6 separate regions of the Homo sapiens genome follow, and all the other regions are linked to region 1. The links are contacts of gene promoters, found by promoter capture Hi-C in blood cells and fetal thymus (Javierre and others, 2016). All regions are on one chromosome and are shown on one strand. The core of a region is centred on a gene start or on the middle of the fragment in contact, and the rest is flanking DNA. Distances in the headings are between cores, read along the strand shown.

Region 1 (2,942 bases), core at 156-2,655:
ACATAAAGAAAAGTTCTTGGGGCTCTCAATAATTTTACAAGTGGAAAGCGGTCTTGAGACCAAAAGATTGAGACCGCTGGTTTATTCAGGCAGATCTTATTCCTTTCCCGGGGTTGCTGAGGTCAGAGCTAAACTTCCCAGAGCTCAACTAAGCTTGGTTCAAACCTTTTAAAAATGTAACTGTTAATGGTAACGCCACCTGGGCTCAACAGCAGCTAGACGGGCCTCTGATTGCTTGGCCAAAGGAAAAGAGGAGGATTTCGTTGGGCCCTGAAGTTGTCACCGTGGCGTGCTTCTTCTGGCCCTGATCTTTCATCCAGGATTGGGGATACGTGCATGCAAACTGGGAGGTGGACATTCCTCCCGCTCTTGTTTTTCAGTGTTAGCATCTTCACTCATACTGTTTTGGTTTCAAAGTGCTCTCAGGAGTCTCCTTAAAACACCAAACCTGTTTTTCGCCTTTTGAATAAATCCCTTGGCTTCACCAAAACTAAACAAAACAAAAATCAAAGAACATCTTTGTGTAACCTATATGCCTGTGATTTCTCCATCTGATCTCCTTTCTCTGGCCTCTTTTCTTTTCTTCCCCAGTGAATTTTAGGCTGCCATGAAACCAGGGAGGAGACAGCCTGACCCTGGCCACGGGTGCAGCAGGCATACATTTTCATCGCACATACTTTGTCGAGTGGGTGTAAGACATTTTTGCATAAACTGAGTTCACGAATGCTATTTCTTAGTCTTTCCTTTGCCCGCGGTCTTCTGCCCAGATCCATTTCTTCGCCCTAATTTTACATATAACTTTCTCCCGGCTGGATTGTTTGCATCCACGACTCCCGACGCTTGAACCTCCCGTTCCTTGGACCTGACCTAATTCTAGGTGCCCGCAGTTTATTTCTCCACTTTGGCAAACGCACGTGGCTCTCCTGGAAGCTTCACTTTTGCTGCTAGGCTGGGTGTTGGGGTTCAGTGGGGCTCGGAAAACGTGCTCTAAAGTAGCCACGACCCCGGTCCCTGCAGAGTCCCGGCCCCCACAGAGCCCCGGCCCCGGACGCTGCAGGCGTCAGAAGGGGGCGGGGAGCAGAAAACGGCCGGGTGAATCACTGGGCGTAACAGGTGCCGCAGCCGCAGCTGCGCCCGCAGCGCGCGCGGACCGCAGGGATAAGGTCTTCTTTTTCTCCGGGTTTTTTTGGAGGTAAGGAGGAGACTACCGAGGCCCCCACCCGACCAATGCAGGCCACGGTTGTTCATCGCCTAGCAACTGGCGGAGCCAATGGGAGGCGGCGGGGCCTGCGGCGCCGGCGCGCGGGGGCGGGGTGGGAACCTCGGAAACCTGCGGAGGCCGGGAGGCGGCTGCAAGGGGCGGGGAAGGCGGGAGCCCGCAGCGGAGGAGGGGCCGCGGGCGGGAGGCGCTGCGAGGCGCTGCTGGCCCTCGGGCTGCGGGAGCCGGGCTAGGACGCCGAGCGGTGACTCCCCGCCGCTCCCGGGGGCCGTGACGGTGAGCAGCAGCGCCTCGCGTCGGGGATTGTGACGCGCCCCGCCAGGGAGGGGCGGGCGGGGGTGGGCGCCGGCAAGGGGCGGGCGCGCGCGGAGGTGAGAGCCGGCACCTGGCTCAGCGCCCCGTTGTTCGGCGGGAGGCTCCGCGCGGCTGTTGGGGCCGTTGCAGGGTGCGGGCGAGCGTCGACCCGGGCCGCTCCTGGAGGAGGAGGTGGGAGGTAGGTGCTGGCCCCGGGACCGCTCTCGCTGGCGTTCGCGGAGCTGCGCCTGCGGAGCGCTCTGACCCGGGGAGCCCCAAACCCTCTCTGGGATGGAGCAAGGTTGGCGCCCGGCGTTGGGGGACGAGCAGCGCGGGGACGTGGGGGAGGAGGGGATGGCCGATTTGGGGCTGCAGAGTCTCAGCAGCGGCCGTGGGGCATGCGGGGTTTGGCGATTTGCTAGTGCAGCCGCAAGAGGCAGTCTTTAAAACGAGTTATTGGGTGGCCGCTGCAGTGGAAGAGAACCCCGATAGTGGTCTAGTAAAAAGTCTAGGGGAAGAATTTACATCATCCAAGAGGCAGGCATGTGTGAAAATACTTTGGTTTATAATTTTATCATGAAAATACTTTGGTTTAGAATTTTATAGTCAACGACAGTAAACTGAATTGTGAGCTCCCTGCACATTTTTTGAGCCTATGCTGATTGCCCAGTTAGGCATATCGCTTGGGCCCAGGACATAGAATATACTAATTTGCTGTCTGCACGTATAATGTAGGAATTTTTAGATTATTACCCAGTTTCAGGACCCATAGTTGTAAATGCCAAACTGCGATTACTAGCAACGCTGATAAAGTTCTTGAATCTGAGAGAATTGAGATTTCTCTTTTCTGGACGCTGTAATAGGTTGAGGATTAGAAAAGAAGGTGATTTAGAAGTGTAAGGGTGGAGGCTTCTTGAACTTCCTGGGCTTTCTAACAATTCAGATTAGAGTCAAGGTGTAGAGTTAGCTGTGGGTGATGGATGTCATGGACCTTTTCATGGTTCATGGGGGTTTGGCTTACTGTGGGGTAGAAGAAAATTCTGGTGATCCTACAGTTTGATCCTGAACTAGAAAGGTTGGTATGAGTTGACTCATTTAGGAGAGTGAATAAAATTTGTAAAGAATTAGAAATTTGGAGAGGAAAGAAATGCCTTTAAAGTTCACGTCAAGCTATTTTGAAATTTAGAAGTTAGAGGTAGATTTATGAATTTGGATCCAGTCGGCAAAACTTGATCCATCAGATCTCTTATCCTAAAACTATCAACCTACAGGCTTAGGAAGCTTAGGTTATTCATTCACACTAAACAAGTAAGGAAAGCTAATAGCTAATTTAACACTCTGTTCTGCCTGCTGTTAATGAAGGTTTCTCAAACAAAACGGTTCTTTGAGAAGAGGGTTAGGAACTGATAATTAAAACGAAGGCTCTTTT
Region 2 (2,791 bases), core at 134-2,633, 590 kb after region 1:
ATGAGCCTAGAGGATGTTATGTTAAGTGAAATCAGTCAGGTACAGAAAGAAAAATACCATATGTTCTCACCCATATGAGGGAGCTTTTAAAAGTGGAGCTCATACAAGTAGATAGGAGAATTGTGGTTATTAAAAGTTGGGAAGAGAATTAGATAATTGTGGGTTACTACAGATTAGAGAGAGGTTAACTGATAAAAAATCACAGCTAGATAGGAAAAGTAAGGTCTAGTGCTCCATAGCACTGTATGGTGACTATAATTTACAATAATTTACTGTACATTTTCAAGTACAAGAGAGGATTTAAATGTTCCTAACACAAAGAAATGATAAATGTTTATGGTAAGGAAATACTAATTACCCTGATTTGATCATTACACATTACATATGTATCAAAATATTACTCTGTATCCTATAAATATGTACAATTATTATGTGTCAACTAAAAATAAAAGGGAAGGGGAGAACACTAGTTCTTACTGGCTCTGTGAGGTTGGGCAGGTGATAGAATTTTTCTACTTGTGTTTCAGTTATCTGTGTTATGTAACAAACTTAGTTTTCAAACAATCACCATATTTTGCTCACAATTTTCTGGGTCAAGAATTTGGGCAACACACAGTAGGAACTGTTCATCTCTATACCACAATGTCTGGGGTCTAAGCTGGGTGGCTCAACAGCTGCGAGAAGCTGGAACAGCCCAAATGAGGTCATAGGTCTGCTGGCTCACTTCACACTGTTTGCTGAGTCACTCTCTCATCTGTCTTCAGCTGAAGGCTGGGCTGACTAAAAGGCCCATGAAATAATTCACCTTATCTAGTGCTACCAATCTCTCTCTTTCTTTCTCTACCCCCCACCCCCACACCCCATCTCTCTGTCTCTTTCTCTCTAAGTGGCTAGTTGGGCTTTGAACAGCATGTTGGTCTCAGAATAGTCAGACTTCTTGCATAGCAGTTCGCTTAAAAGAGGACAGAGCCTCAACCCTGTAACGGATCTAGCATCACATCCACCATATTATACTGGTTAAAGCAATGAGAAACCCAGCCCAGATTCAGTGGAATGAAGAAATATGCTATGCTTCTAGATGAAAAGGGTGGTTAAGAATTTGTAGCCATCTTCACTTTGTCACAGAATACTCCTCCATTTTCAAAATATACTTTACTCCTTCCAAGACCCCAAGAAGCCTTATCCTAAGGTCCAGGATGTAATCTAAATCAAATGCAGGTATAGATGAGGCCTCTCAGATCCAGTTTCCTGAGTGCAACTCCTCATACTTAGTTTCTCTTAATCTAAAGACTTGTGAACTAAAGAGACAAGTTATCTGCCCAATACACGATGGTGAGATAGGAATAGAAATTGCAATGGATACTCCCATTCAAAAAGAGGGAAAACAAGAGGTATAAACACTCCCTCATCAATAGCAATTCTAAAGTCCAGTTGGGCACATGTCACTCATTCCTTGATTAGTCCTGAGAGTAGTTCTCCTTGTCTCTTAGCTGTACTCTCTGGCTTCTTGGCTGCCCTCTCTCAATCATTCTTTCACATGAAATGGCCTATGTGAAGAGGTGAGTAGCTTTTCAGCCTGCTTCCTTTCCACAGTAGGTGAGGGCCCGTACACTTTTTTCCTTATTAATTATCTCTGACCCTTTCAATCAACATTAATACAATTTCTTTTAAAACTCTGTGGGTTTCTCATATTATCAAATTCTAATATATTCCAAGAGACAAAAAGCCACATCCACATTCCCTTTGGAGAGGGCTTTCTCTACCTTGGGCCTCACATAAGACTGCTATGGGACAAGTCCTTAAGATTTCTAAAAACCCCAACTGTCTAATTTAGAGTAACGTGAGCCACACACAAGATTCTCTTTTTGCATTTTTGTTTTCATTTTTTATTTTTTTTGAGATGGAGTCTCGCTCTGTCGCCTAGGCTGGAGTGCAGTGGCGCAATCTCGGTTGACTACAACCTCCGCCTCCCAGATTCAAGCGATTCTCCTACCTTAGCCTCCCAAGCAGCTGGGACTACAGGTGCCCAACACCACGCCCAGCTAATTTTTGTAGTTTTGTATTTTTTTTTTTTTTTAGTAGAGATGGGGTTTCACCACATTGGCCAGGCTGGTCTTGAACTCCTGACCTCGTGATCTGCCCACCTCGGCCTCCCAAAGTGCTGGGATTACAGGCACACACAAAATTTTTATAAGCCTTTCAGTCTAAATAAAGGTCTGTGAGACATCACTTTAAATTATCTGAGGTCATAGCAAAGGGTCTTACAGTATTTTTTAAAAGGTAGTTATTTTACTTGTTAAGAAAATTTTTAAGTCATGAGATAGTAATAAATAATTATCATAAAAATATAACTGCAGGCAGCTTTGAGGCCCTCCTTCTTGAACACAGGAATCTAGAGAATTCTCTAAATCTTTATTAAATAATAATTATCTCATTTATTATGTAAATCACTGCTCCCTGTATTTAGATAGATTAAATTCCTGTTACAATTTGGCACTAGGAAAGTGGCTTTATACTGTATCCTCACCATGTAGTGCTAAATTTTATGCTCAAATACAGTAACTAGCTTCAACATCGGTTTATTGGTTCAACCATCTTCTTGCCTTTGATTTCAAGGCTCTTGTATTTATAATTTTGCTTTAAAGGTTATATATGCCTTCTATTGAAAAACACCTGAAATCTTTTTTGGCTGTGGTAATGGGAGATGAGGAGGTGATAAGAATGAGTAATAAATGTAAGTTAAAAAGAAAGTAGGAAGTTCCATTTCTGGCTTGGGAAAATGAACCACCAA
Region 3 (2,761 bases), core at 127-2,626, 560 kb before region 1:
TCGGCTCACTGCAACCTCCGCCTCCCGGGTTCAAGCGATTCTCCTGCCTCAGCCTGCCAAGTAGCTGGGACTACAGGCACACGCCACCACGCCCAGCTAATTTTTGTATTTTTAGTGGAGATGGGGTTTCAGCATGTTGGCCAGGGTGGTCTCGATCTCCTGACCTCGTGATCCGCCCGCTTCAGCCTCCCAAAGTGCTGGGATTACAGGTGTGAGCCACCGCACCCTGCCACTTCTGGTTTTAGTGGTTGTAAAATGTAGGTAAGCAAAGCTTAGTTATTAGTTGTAGCTTTATTGACATGTATAATAATTAATTGTAAAAGCATAATTAATATAGTGATTTTTAGTTTACACTTTTTAGAATTTAGAAAGTTTGTCTATTGATAAGTTAAACTTACTTGAGTGATTTGAGTTCCATAATAAAAAAATTGTTTCCTTACCAGTACATCTATACTATATGAGACCGAGTAAAAAAGCTCAGTAAAATTGATAAATGAACATTGCTCAGATTTTTTCCTACTCTAGTTTATAAAGCAATGCCTTGTCATGACACTAGATGGCATAGCACTTCTGCTCAAATCACTGATAGCCAGTTACTTTTTAACTTCAGTAGTTTGTGGTTTTGTTATTCAGTTAATTTACTTGTAATAAGTGGCAAATTAAAAGCAAAAATATCTCAGTATCATCTAAATGTATGCTAATGCATAGTGAATATTATAGTAAACTTAGTACTTTCCATTTTTATATTATCACTACTGAAAATCTCAAAAGAGGAGCTTAGTGATAATTAACTCGTTAAAAAGCAAAAGGTGCCGGGTGCGGTGGCTCACGCCTGTAATCCCAGCACTTTGGGAGGCCGAGGTGGGTGGATCACGAGGTCAGGAGATAGAGACCATCCTGGTTAACACCGTGAAACCCCGTCTCTACTAAAAATACAAAAAATTAGCTGGGTGTGATGGCAGGCACCTGTAGTCCCAGCTGCTTGGGAGGCTGAGGCAGGAGAATGGCGTGAACCTGGGAGGTGGAGATTACAATGAGCTGAGATGGTGCCACTGCACTCCATCCTGGGCAACAGAGCAAGACTCCATCTCAAAAAAAAAAAAAAGCAAAACGTTTGGCTTGTTTTGGTGGTATACCATGTTATTTGGTTTGTGGAGCCAGTGTTTTTGTATGAACATGATGAACTACTGATTAAAACTTTGATTTGTAAATTCCTGGGGTGAGTTGATCTGAATTGTATTTTATTCCACTGCCTACATAAATCCATAGTGCTCTGTGAAGCATATGAATAACATCACCGTGCTGTGCTTGAAGGGGAGTGAAGATGAATGGTATTGATTGTTATCTGCATCAATAAATGAGATATTCTGATTATGGTACAGTCAGCAGAAGGGAATTGAAGGCTTAAGATTTTAATATTTCCTTCAAGGAATTTATGATTTGATGTCAGTAGTTCCTCACATTTTTTAATAATGAAGGCTCCTTTCAATATCAAGATATTTTATAGATCTCCACATGATAACCTGTTGAACTTTTTGAGTATCTGTTGATCAAGAAAATAAAGTCAAAAGCTACAATTAATTAGTAATGTGCTCAAAATAAATTTGTATTTTATAAATCATAACATCTTTTCCATGTTACTCTGTCTATATGGAGTTCTTAATACCACACATTTGCTTAGGGAGATGGAATTAGCAACTAGTCTGTGCTACCCTGTATTTTTTTTTTAACCATGTAGTTGGATTTTTTAAAATACAATAAAAGAGTTCACTTTTCCAGGTTTGACAACATTTTTATGAATTGGAAATTTTCTGTGGCTACAGATACTATTAACATTTTGGAAAGGTGTAAAGAACATTGTTTTAATGTAAGGCTCTTCTCTAACCTCCCTCCCCTCTCCAAATTCTCCATAATATGAAGTAGGAAGATATGTATTTTTCTGTTGCCATTAAAATGTTCTGGCCATCGTGGGAGTGGGGATGGGGAGGGCGGGGATGGGAATTAGAACTTACTAGAATAAAATTCCAAATAGAGGTTTGGGGAAACCTACTTGTGAGTGCTTTTTAACCTCAAAATAAGGATTTGGGGTGGGTGGAGAAGGTGATGGGGCAGAAGAAGTTGTTTTTGGAGGAGAGAAAGCAGATTGAAAGGAAAAGGACAGCTGATAGCCACTTAAATAATGTCATCGTTAGAGTGATACCTATTTTTTGTAAAAAGAAAACAATATGCTCCATTCTTACAAAGCATTGATTGTATTTTAATATATACAATGTAAATACTATCATGCAGTGGTGTCCAAGGGAGAGAATACAGTCATGAGTTCTTAGTTTCTGTTATTGGTTGGGCCAATAAAGCCCCTTCATCATCCTTCTTTTCTGCTTATCACTAGAGACAGAAACTAAAAACCATGGCTTCAGGCTGCTAAAAGCCTAAAACAAAACAGAACAACAACAACAAATAAGGCAGGTTGGACAAGCTTGCTGAGTATTTGGGAGCCTTTTTCAAAAGTCTGATTTGGGGGAAGTAAAGTCACTTATTTTAAGCTACCTTAGTATAGCACCTAAAGAGTTACTTTGTGAATTTTGTATGGCTGCAATTGAAAAAAAAAATTGCTCACTTTCACTTGCATTTAAAAATCAGAGCTCTAAAAGTTAATTCTTGTTTTTTATTGGGAAACTCTGAGAGAAACATTAATTGATGAGGGTAATAATTTTGGTATAAAGCCAGTGAAATTTTAATGCTTAACATGTTGGGTTTTTTA
Region 4 (2,826 bases), core at 200-2,699, 520 kb after region 1:
CCACCAAGGTCTAAAAATGTCCTCAGGGCAGTTGAAGTATGCTTCCCCTTACAGCTCTGGTTCTCATTTACCACTTCAATTTTTGCACTTTGGGAATTTATTTAATTTTAATTAAATTAGAATTCACTTAAAGGGTAAATTCAGGTATTCATTTAAAGGGGCACTTGTTACAGTTTATTCAGCATTTCAAGGTGCTGTTGATCTTAAATAATTTCTGCCCTCAAAAGATTTTTAAGTTATCTAGTCTCCAATTTTGCATTTTTTTCTTTATAGGACAAGCTTCATGTTAGATTGTAAGATGCAAAGACATCAGAATGTTTATGGATTTCATTTTTTTATGCTGGAAATTCCAAATGCTCACCAGGATGTATTTAGGCATTGGCATCTTTGTTAATCTTGTCAAAACAAAATGAGGTCTTTCAATTTAAAGATTCAAGTTTTTCTTCAACTAACAAGTTTTCCTGAATCATATTTTTGATTACTGCTTTTCTGTTCTATAAATCATATCTGCTCTGTTCTGTGGAATGCTATCCATTCAATTTGTAAAATGTCCTTTTATTTTCTTTTATAATTTCTTGTCCTGCTTTTATTTAACATACTTTCCATCTTATAATTTTTATCTTGTCCATTTCCTCTACATTCTATTAGGGTCTATCTGGAGAGATCTTCACATTATTAATTTACTTTTCTGCAATGATTATTCTGGTTTTTATTGCCTCTAATGCAGCTTTATATTCTAAAAATGCCAGGTTTATTTCTTACAACTTTTTCCTATCACAACATTATGCTTCTTTTCCATTCCTGCCTCTCAGCCAGTAATCTTTTCATTCTAGGTTCTTGTTTTATCTTTGTTTCATGTCTTAGTTCACTAACTCCATGCTCACTTGAAATTTTAAGAATTAACACAGATGGCATCTATAATTTTTTGTGTTTATACTCTCCTGCACAAATATTTTCTAAATATAAGTTCATTCTCTACCTCTTGGAGACTGTAACTTTATCGTTTTATGGTGTATAACCTCTTTTATAGGTTCCACATTGTTGCTTTTCTTTTTTATTCATTCAAGAACAATTACAAGCTTTTCAAAACTTTACAAATGCCCCAAATAAGGTAAGTGGTTTTTCTTTGGCCCTTCTCATTTCCTGTTTAGATGCTGTTAGACTAAACTCTTCACATCATTTAGCGTACACATATTTACATTATCAGGTAAGTAATCCAGTGACCTTCATAAATGGGAATGTGGCCAGGACTATAGGATTCCTTGCTGGTAGTGATGCCTTCTATGTCAGGAAAGAGCCTTCTATATTTAAAGAGAGGCCACTTTTCAACTTGAAAAGGCCTAATACATTCTTGGTTGTCCCACTATAGCTGTTTTAGAATGAAAGTAATGAGCAGTGTTGGATCTTCCACTTATTTTCCTCATCCCTCCCAGTTAGTGAGGGTGAAACTATTATTTCTTTCTTTTCCATAAAGAAAAGCTACTCAAGTTAAAACTGTTAATTAGACTTTGGAGTCTGATCATCAAAATCCTGTACATATTTGGGCAAATAACCATCTTTAATTTCAGAAATGATGTACTGCTTTCCCAATTTTTTTTCTCACAGTATTTTCAGTCAGAATCTAGAAAGGGAAATTAATGAAGTGTTGGTATTCAAGTCTGTATGGTGCTGTAATTCATAGCAGATTCATGCCTTCTTCTTCAGAGATTTGCCCTCAACTACAGCTGGGCCAGGATTCTCACCCAGGATTTTGATATAATGATGCTAGTTACATCAAAAAGCACATGAACTAGGAGAGCACATAAACTTTGAAGCTTTCAGATGACTAAGCTCCATTTTGCACAAGCATCAGAGAAACCTATTCGCTACACAGTGAGGATAATAAAGCAAATACAAGGAAAAAAGTAAAGACGTCATGTGATCTCAGAGAGAAAAACTGAGAAAGGTACTGTTATGATTCCAGTCAGCTTTCCAAATCAATTCTACTCTTTGGAACAGCTCAACTCTACTTTTGCCTTTGAGCTCCATGACATCCTCTGCATCCCAATAATACCTGTATCTTCTTCTGCTTAAGCTTATTTGAGTGAGTTGCTACAACCTCTAAACATAAGGGCCTTACAATAGTTTGACTGATTTTCAGAGAAGTTCCTTTAGTATTTCTTTATAGACCTTGTTTGCTTAACAAGGGCAAAAACTTCACAAAAAGAGTTATGAGTAAGAAAAACATTTAGAAAGTGAAGGCTCTTTTCACATATAACCAATTTTTTAAATACTAGAAAGATAAAGGTACTGACTGGTACAATTTAGTTTCTTAAGCATTTTATATGACTTCATCCTACAAAGTTGATAAAGGAACAAGTAAATACTATGGTTATTGTATTTTTCTGAACCAAAAAAAGTCAAAACCCACACTGGTATTTTTCACTGGCAATGTAAGGGAACTGTTCAAGTATGTAAAAATGAATTATATTTAGTTTATCATTAATTCTATAAGTATTTATTGGGTACCTTGCTGTGTTTGGGGTACTGGGGTGACTACTAGAAACATACAATGAATAAGGCACTGTCCTTGACTTGAGTTCAACATTTAGAGATTAGAAAGTGACATACAAATTTATAATTTCAATATAATACAATAATTGTTGTAGTTTGTAAGTTTGCTTTGGGAGTACAGAGAAATCACCTAATTCCACAGGGTCAGTGTCGGAGGTAATGACTGGTTCTCTAAATTTTTATGATAAAGACTATAAATATGGAAAGGTAGCAAGGAATTATATGTAATATAGTATGGCTAGATCAAAATTTGTGAGAGAGATTTTGCAAACA
Region 5 (2,984 bases), core at 418-2,917, 590 kb before region 1:
GACAGAGCGAGATTCTGTCTCCAAATAAATAAATAAATAAACTTAGATAAAATTTTTCAAGTGCCTACCTCGTCTGCCCCAAACACAAATAAACTAGAATATAAATTCCATGAGGAAAGAGATTTTTATTGGTTTTGTTCACAGCTGTTTTCCTAGCACCTAGAACAGTGTCTGGCACATAGTGGACATTCAAAACACATTTGTTAAATGAAAGGATTCATCCTAAAGTTAAGGATGGTTCAGTAAATCGGATGGAAGATGATGAAAAATTAAGCAATTAGAAAAAAACTGTCCTTGTGTAATGTGTCAACATGGAAACAGGACATAATGTAAACATCAGAATCCCTTGCTGTGATTCTGGTTTTTGTGGCTCTGGTTACATTGTTTTTTTGTGTGTGTTTTTTTTTTTTTTTGCTTTCCCGTTTCTTAAACATTGGCGTTCCCAAGTTTCTCCTTGGTCCTCCTGTCATTTTTATCTACTCTCGTAGCTTCAAATACCATCTAGTTTATAGTTTATTTAGCATGTTGTCCAAGCCACCGTCTTGGGCCCAGGGCTCTACCTGTAGCTTTTCATCCACACTTCTCAGGTTGCTTCTTACACAGCGCCATAGTAGTTAAAATACGGTCTGGGGATAGTCGTCTCTTCATCAGTCTCCCCCTATAAAATGGAGGACTCATAGTATAAGTTGCCTAGAACATATTAGTAAGGACTCAATAAATGTTTGAGTAGGATGAGCTGGGTGGCTCATGCCTGTAGTCCCTGCACTTTGGGAAGCCGAGGCGGGTGGATGGCTTGAGCCCAGGAGTTTGAGACCAGCCTGGGCAACATGGCGAAACTCCATCTCTATAAAAAATACAAAAAAACTAGCTGGACTCCCAGCTGCTTGGTGGCTGAGGTGGAAGGATCGCCTGAGCCCTGGAGGTGGAAGCTGCAGTGAGCCGAGAATCGCACCACTGCACTCCAGCCTGGGCGACAGAGTGAGATCCTGTCTCAATAAATAAATAAATAATCAGTTGAGTGCATACTGTGTGCCCAACTACCTTTAAGAACTTTACATATGATCCCGGCAGCCCTAAAAGGTAAGCATATCTATCTCCATTACACAGATTAACTAATGAGGAAAAGCTATGTTTATAATGAACAGTGACCAAAAAGTATGCAAACGTTAAATGAGGTGTTAAAGTGGTGGGATTGTAGGTGGTTTCTTTTTTTCTTTCAAAAATTTGTTTAGTATTGTAGTTAGGCTGTTTGTGTGTATGCATGTGTATGTGTGTATGAGTGCGTTTGTGTGTGACCAAAACAGTAACTGGCAAACGTAACAACAGGAAATTGTAGGGCAGGGTCTGGGAAAAGGGGAGGAACCCAAGGTACTGACAAGCCCAGACCGGACTCCCCCGAAGTGAGCAGGCAGCAAAGGCTGAGAGTGCCAGCTGCCTGGGCACTGACGGACCCCACCCACGGAAACGATGCCTTATGAGGAAGCTAACCCGGGCCACTTACCGACGACCTGCGCAGGCGTGGCTTGAGGAAACGCCCGCTGTGGGCGGAGCCACCCGAAAGGCTCCGGTCGGGGGCGGGAACAGGATCGGCCCGCGGGCTGGCGTCGATAGGCTGCCGCAGAGACAGGGCGGGCTCTGCTAAGCGACGCGCCTCGCCGTGGGGCGGTGCCTGCGCCTGAGCCTCTACGAGAGGGAAGGAACGCTGCTCCGAGCTCCGCGTCGCGTCGCGTAGATTCGCGTCGCCGTCGACCTCAGAGGCGGGGCCGGAAGCGCTACGGTTTGACCCCCGAGTCCCTCTGTTCCCGAAGGGGCGGCCGTCTTTCTCCCGACCCGCTCCGCCTCCTCTCCTTCTTCCCCATTACCCGGAGGCCGAAGCCCCCAGCCAGGGCGGGGCGGCGCAGCCCGAGCTCCCGGACCCGGAAGAAGCGCCATCTCCCGCCTCCACCATGGAGCCCACCGCACCGTCCCTCACCGAGGAGGACCTCACTGAAGTGAAGAAGGACGTGAGTAACGCAGCTGTGCCCAGGGCGGGCGGGGGCGGGCTGCAGCCCAGCGGGAGACGAAAGCGGAAGCCTGGAGTCCGAGGACAAGGAGGATCCTCCAGGTCGGAGGAGCGGAAAGTCCTAGCACAGGAGGACTGTGGCGAGCCCTGCATCCGAGGGACCTTGGTGGCAGTGATCCTCCAGTGATCTGTCAATCCAGGTTTTACATCGCTAAACGCAGAGCTTGGGCTTTGTTGCCAAGTGGTGTTTTGATTCTTGCCCACTCCTCACCCATCTCCTCATGCTTTCCCCCCAACTGGGTTCTTGGAGATGCTTCGTTAGGGACTGGCGGCTCAGATTCATCCTTAAGTCAGGCTGCCTAGGCTGCTCACTCAGCCTAGAGCGAAGGCTGTACCAGGTGAAGGATCCCAAGCAGTGGACCAAAAATGTGAAGCTCTTTTGCATAAGGGGGCTTGAGGAAGCTCAACAGCTGAAAGCACAACCTGGAATTCCCCTAGTAAGCAGACGCCCACATATTTAAATTGGGGTTGGGGGAGTGAATACACGTAGCTGAGAATTAATGTACAGGTAAACGTCGAAAATATTCAGTAGCTAAATTATGCTCTTCTCGGATGGTGCAGAACCACATAAACCTTCATATTTATTCGTAACGAATGGCTTTGTTGAGATATGACATTCTTTTTCCTTTGCGTTTACTTGTTTTGTCAGATGAGACCTATATGAGTATCACTAAAATACTTTATCTGAAGTCAAATGAAAAACAGAAACTCAACATGAAACGTGTTCTTATTGAACACTGCAGTACTTTTACAAAGTCATTTTGATGAACTGGACAGGATGGCAACTTTTTAAATGTTCATCCACTTCAAATCCCTTCCTCTTCCCTGTAAGGTTTATTACACTGTACTCACAATTGGTGTGACTCACCAGCAGAAGGAAACTGGATATGACTGGGAGTTGTGCTTAGTTTCCTCATTCAAC
Region 6 (2,927 bases), core at 85-2,584, 540 kb after region 1:
TGGAGAAAACAGAACCCTTGCACACTGTTGGTGAGAATATACATTAGTACAGCCATTATGGAAAATGATATGAAGGATCCTCAAAAAATTAAAAATGAACTATCATATGATCCAGCTTCTAAGTATGTATCAAAAGAAAGAAATCAGTATGTCTAAGAGATATCTAGATATCTGTACTCCCATGTTCATTACAGCATTATTCACAAGATATGGCATCGACGTATGGTATTCTACACACTGGAATACACTATCAACCTTAAGAAAGAAGGAAATTCTTTCATTTGTGATAGAGTGAATGAACCTGGAAGACATTATATTAAGTGAAATAAGGCAGACACAGAAACACAAATATTGCATAATGTCACACATGTGGAACCTAAAAACATCAAAATCGCAGAAGTAGAGAATAGAATGCTGGTTGTCAGGGGCTGAAGGATGGGAGGGTTCAGGGAAGGAAGATTTAGGAGATGTTGGCTAAAGGGTACAAAATTTCACTTAGACAGGATGAATAAGTCCTGGAGATTCATCGTATAGAATGGTAACTGCAGTTAATAATAATGCATTAATACAGGCACACCCCTCATTTTATTGTGTGTTGCTTTATTGCACTCAGCAGATATTGCACTTTTCACAAATTGAGGGTTGGGGCAACCTTGTGTCAAGCAAATCTGTTGGTGCCATTTTTCTTACAGCATGTGCTCACTTCATGTCTCTGTGTCACATTTTAATAATTTTCACAATATTTCCTTTTTCATTATTATTATATCTGTTATGGCGATCTGTGTTCAGATGTTACTATTTTAACTGTTTTAGGGCACCACAAACTGCACCCAAATAAAATGGTGAGCTTAATTGATAAGGGTTGTGTGTGCTCTGACTGCTCCACTCACCAGCTAGTCCCCCATTTCTCTCCCTCTCCTTGGGCCTTCCTATTCCCTAAGACACAGCAATACTGAAATTACGCCGATCAATAGCCTTACAATGGCCTCTTAGTGTTCAGACGAAAGGAAGAATTGCACATCTCTCACTTCAAATCAAAAGCTAGAAATGATTAAGCTTAGTAAGGATGGTATGTTGAAAGCTGAGACAGGCCAAAAGCTAGGCCTCTTGCACCATACAGCCAAGCTGAGAATGCAAAAGAAAAAAGTTACTGAAGGAAACTAAAAGTGCTGCTCCAGTGAACACACTAATGATAAGAAGGCAAAACAGCCTTATTGTTGATATAGAGAAAGTTGTGTGGTCTGGAAAGATCAAACCAGTCATAGCATTTCCTTAAGCCAAAGCCTAATTAAGAACAAGGCCTTGACACTCTTCAATTCTATAAAGGCTAAGAGTGGTGAGGAAGTTGCAGAAGTCTGAAGCTAGCAGAGGTTGGTTCATGAGGTTTAAAGGAAAGAAGCCCTTTCTATAACATAAAAGTACAAGGTGAAGCAGCAAGTGCTAATGGAGAAGCTGCACCAGGTTATCCAGAAGATCTAGCTAAAATAATTGATGAAGGTGGCTAGACTAAACAACAGATTTTCAATGCAGAATTAACAGTGCTCTATTGGAAGAAGATGCCATCTAGAACTTTCCTAGCTAGAGAGAAGGCAATGCCTGGCTTCAAAGCTTCAAAGGACAGGCTGACTCTCGCTAGGGGCTAATACATCTGGTGACTTCAAATTGAAGCCAATATTCATTTACCATTTAGAAACTCTTAGTGCCCTCAAAAACTATGCTAAATCTACTCTACCTGTACTCTATAAATGGAATGTGAAAGGCTAGATGACACCATATCTGTTTGCAGCATTGTTTACTATTTTAAGCCCACCATTGGGAACCACTCAGAAAAAGATTCCTTTTAAAATATTAGTGCTAATTGACAATGCACCTGATCACCCAAGAGCTCGATGTACAAGGAGATGAACGTTGTTTTCATGCCTGATAACACAACATCCATTCTGCAGGCATGGATCAGGTCTTATTATTTAAGAAATATATTTTATAAGGCTAAAGGTGTCACAGATAGTGATTCCTCTGATGGATCTGGGCAAAGTAAATTGAAAACCTTCTGAAAAGGAGTTACCATTCCAGATGCCGTAAGAACATTGTGATTTATGGGAGGAGGTCAGAATATCAACATCAACAGGAGTTTGGAAGAAGTTGTTTCCAACTCTCATAGATGCGTTTGAGCGGTTTAAAATTTCAGTGGAGAAAGTCACTGCAGATGTGGTAAAAAATTACAAGATAATTAGAATTAAAAGTGGAGCCTGGAGATGTGACTCTATTGCTGCAATCTCCTGATAAAACTATAACGAGTGAGGAGTTGCTTCTTGCAGATGAGCAAAGAAAGTAGTTTCTTGAGATGGAATCTATTTCTGGTGAAGATGCTGTGAAGATTATTGAAATGACACCTGAGAATTTAGAATATTACATCAACTTAGTTGGTAAAGCAGTAACAAGGTTTGAGAGAACTGACTCCAATTTTAAAAGAAGTTCTACTGTGGGTAAAATGCTACCAAAAACATCACATGCTACAGAGAAATCTTTTATGAAAATAAGAGTCAGTCAAGTGTGTCACTTTGTTGTCTTATTTTAAGAAATTGCCACTGCCATCCCAACCTTCAGCGACCATCACCTTGATCAATCAGCAGGCAAACATCAATGCAAGACCCTCCACCAGCAAAAAAATTGGGAAATGCTGAAAGCTGAGATGATCATTAGTATTTTTTTAGCAATAAAATAATTTCAAATTAAGATATGTACTTTTAAAAAGATATAATGTTATTGCACACTGAATAGACTATAGAGTAAACATAACTTAAATGCACTGGGAAACCAAAAAATGTGTGACTTGCTTTACTGTGACTTTAGTTGTATTGTGGTGGTCTGGAACTGGACCTGCAGTATCTCTGAGGTATGACTACATGAAAATTGCTAAGAGATTC

What was found. The method cuts DNA at HindIII sites, captures the fragments that hold promoters and counts their contacts. A CHiCAGO score of 5 or more calls a contact.
Region 2: a contact is called between a fragment that was not itself captured here and the fragment with the promoter of SSX2IP in region 1, in 4 of 17 cell types (erythroblasts, total B cells, non-activated CD4 T cells and 1 more). The highest score is 8.9, in erythroblasts.
Region 3: a contact is called between a fragment that was not itself captured here and the fragment with the promoter of SSX2IP in region 1, in 6 of 17 cell types (total CD8 T cells, non-activated CD4 T cells, naive CD8 T cells and 3 more). The highest score is 6.8, in total CD8 T cells.
Region 4: a contact is called between a fragment that was not itself captured here and the fragment with the promoter of SSX2IP in region 1, in 7 of 17 cell types (total CD4 T cells, total CD8 T cells, total B cells and 4 more). The highest score is 8.9, in total CD4 T cells.
Region 5: a contact is called between the fragment with the promoter of BCL10 here and the fragment with the promoter of SSX2IP in region 1, in 3 of 17 cell types (naive CD8 T cells, activated CD4 T cells and total CD8 T cells). The highest score is 5.8, in naive CD8 T cells.
Region 6: a contact is called between a fragment that was not itself captured here and the fragment with the promoter of SSX2IP in region 1, in 12 of 17 cell types (erythroblasts, fetal thymus, monocytes and 9 more). The highest score is 10.5, in erythroblasts.

What each region holds. Positions count from the first base shown.
Region 1 is chr1:84,688,924-84,691,865 of GRCh38, reverse strand. SSX2IP (SSX family member 2 interacting protein) reads left to right here and starts at 1,405. Exons shown (of 14, transcript NM_001166293.2): 1 at 1,405-1,495. RefSeq lists a silencer at 1,194-1,953. The HindIII fragment of the contact is 1,864 bases long and covers 933-2,796 here.
Region 2 is chr1:84,101,493-84,104,283 of GRCh38, reverse strand. It overlaps a transcript of PRKACB not described here. Among named protein-coding and RNA genes, the nearest start is that of PRKACB, 41 kb to the left of the region's middle. The HindIII fragment of the contact is 3,291 bases long and covers 1-2,791 here.
Region 3 is chr1:85,252,740-85,255,500 of GRCh38, reverse strand. The region is part of intron 2 of C1orf52 (chromosome 1 open reading frame 52); the gene reads left to right. Among named protein-coding and RNA genes, the nearest start is that of C1orf52, 5.5 kb to the left of the region's middle. The HindIII fragment of the contact is 2,205 bases long and covers 274-2,478 here.
Region 4 is chr1:84,167,353-84,170,178 of GRCh38, reverse strand. All of the region lies in intron 1 of PRKACB (protein kinase cAMP-activated catalytic subunit beta), which reads right to left. Among named protein-coding and RNA genes, the nearest start is that of PRKACB, 24 kb to the right of the region's middle. The HindIII fragment of the contact is 735 bases long and covers 1,082-1,816 here.
Region 5 is chr1:85,275,315-85,278,298 of GRCh38, reverse strand. It overlaps BCL10 (BCL10 immune signaling adaptor), which reads left to right and starts at 1,667. Exons shown (of 3, transcript NM_003921.5): 1 at 1,667-2,003. The coding sequence starts at 1,947. It overlaps BCL10-AS1 (BCL10 antisense RNA 1), which reads right to left and starts at 1,941. Exons shown (of 2, transcript NR_045484.1): 1 at 1,502-1,941; 2 at 211-658. RefSeq lists enhancers at 1,367-2,069, 1,275-2,474. The HindIII fragment of the contact is 19,185 bases long and covers 1-2,984 here.
Region 6 is chr1:84,151,088-84,154,014 of GRCh38, reverse strand. All of the region lies in intron 1 of PRKACB (protein kinase cAMP-activated catalytic subunit beta), which reads right to left. Among named protein-coding and RNA genes, the nearest start is that of PRKACB, 8.3 kb to the right of the region's middle. The HindIII fragment of the contact is 552 bases long and covers 1,059-1,610 here.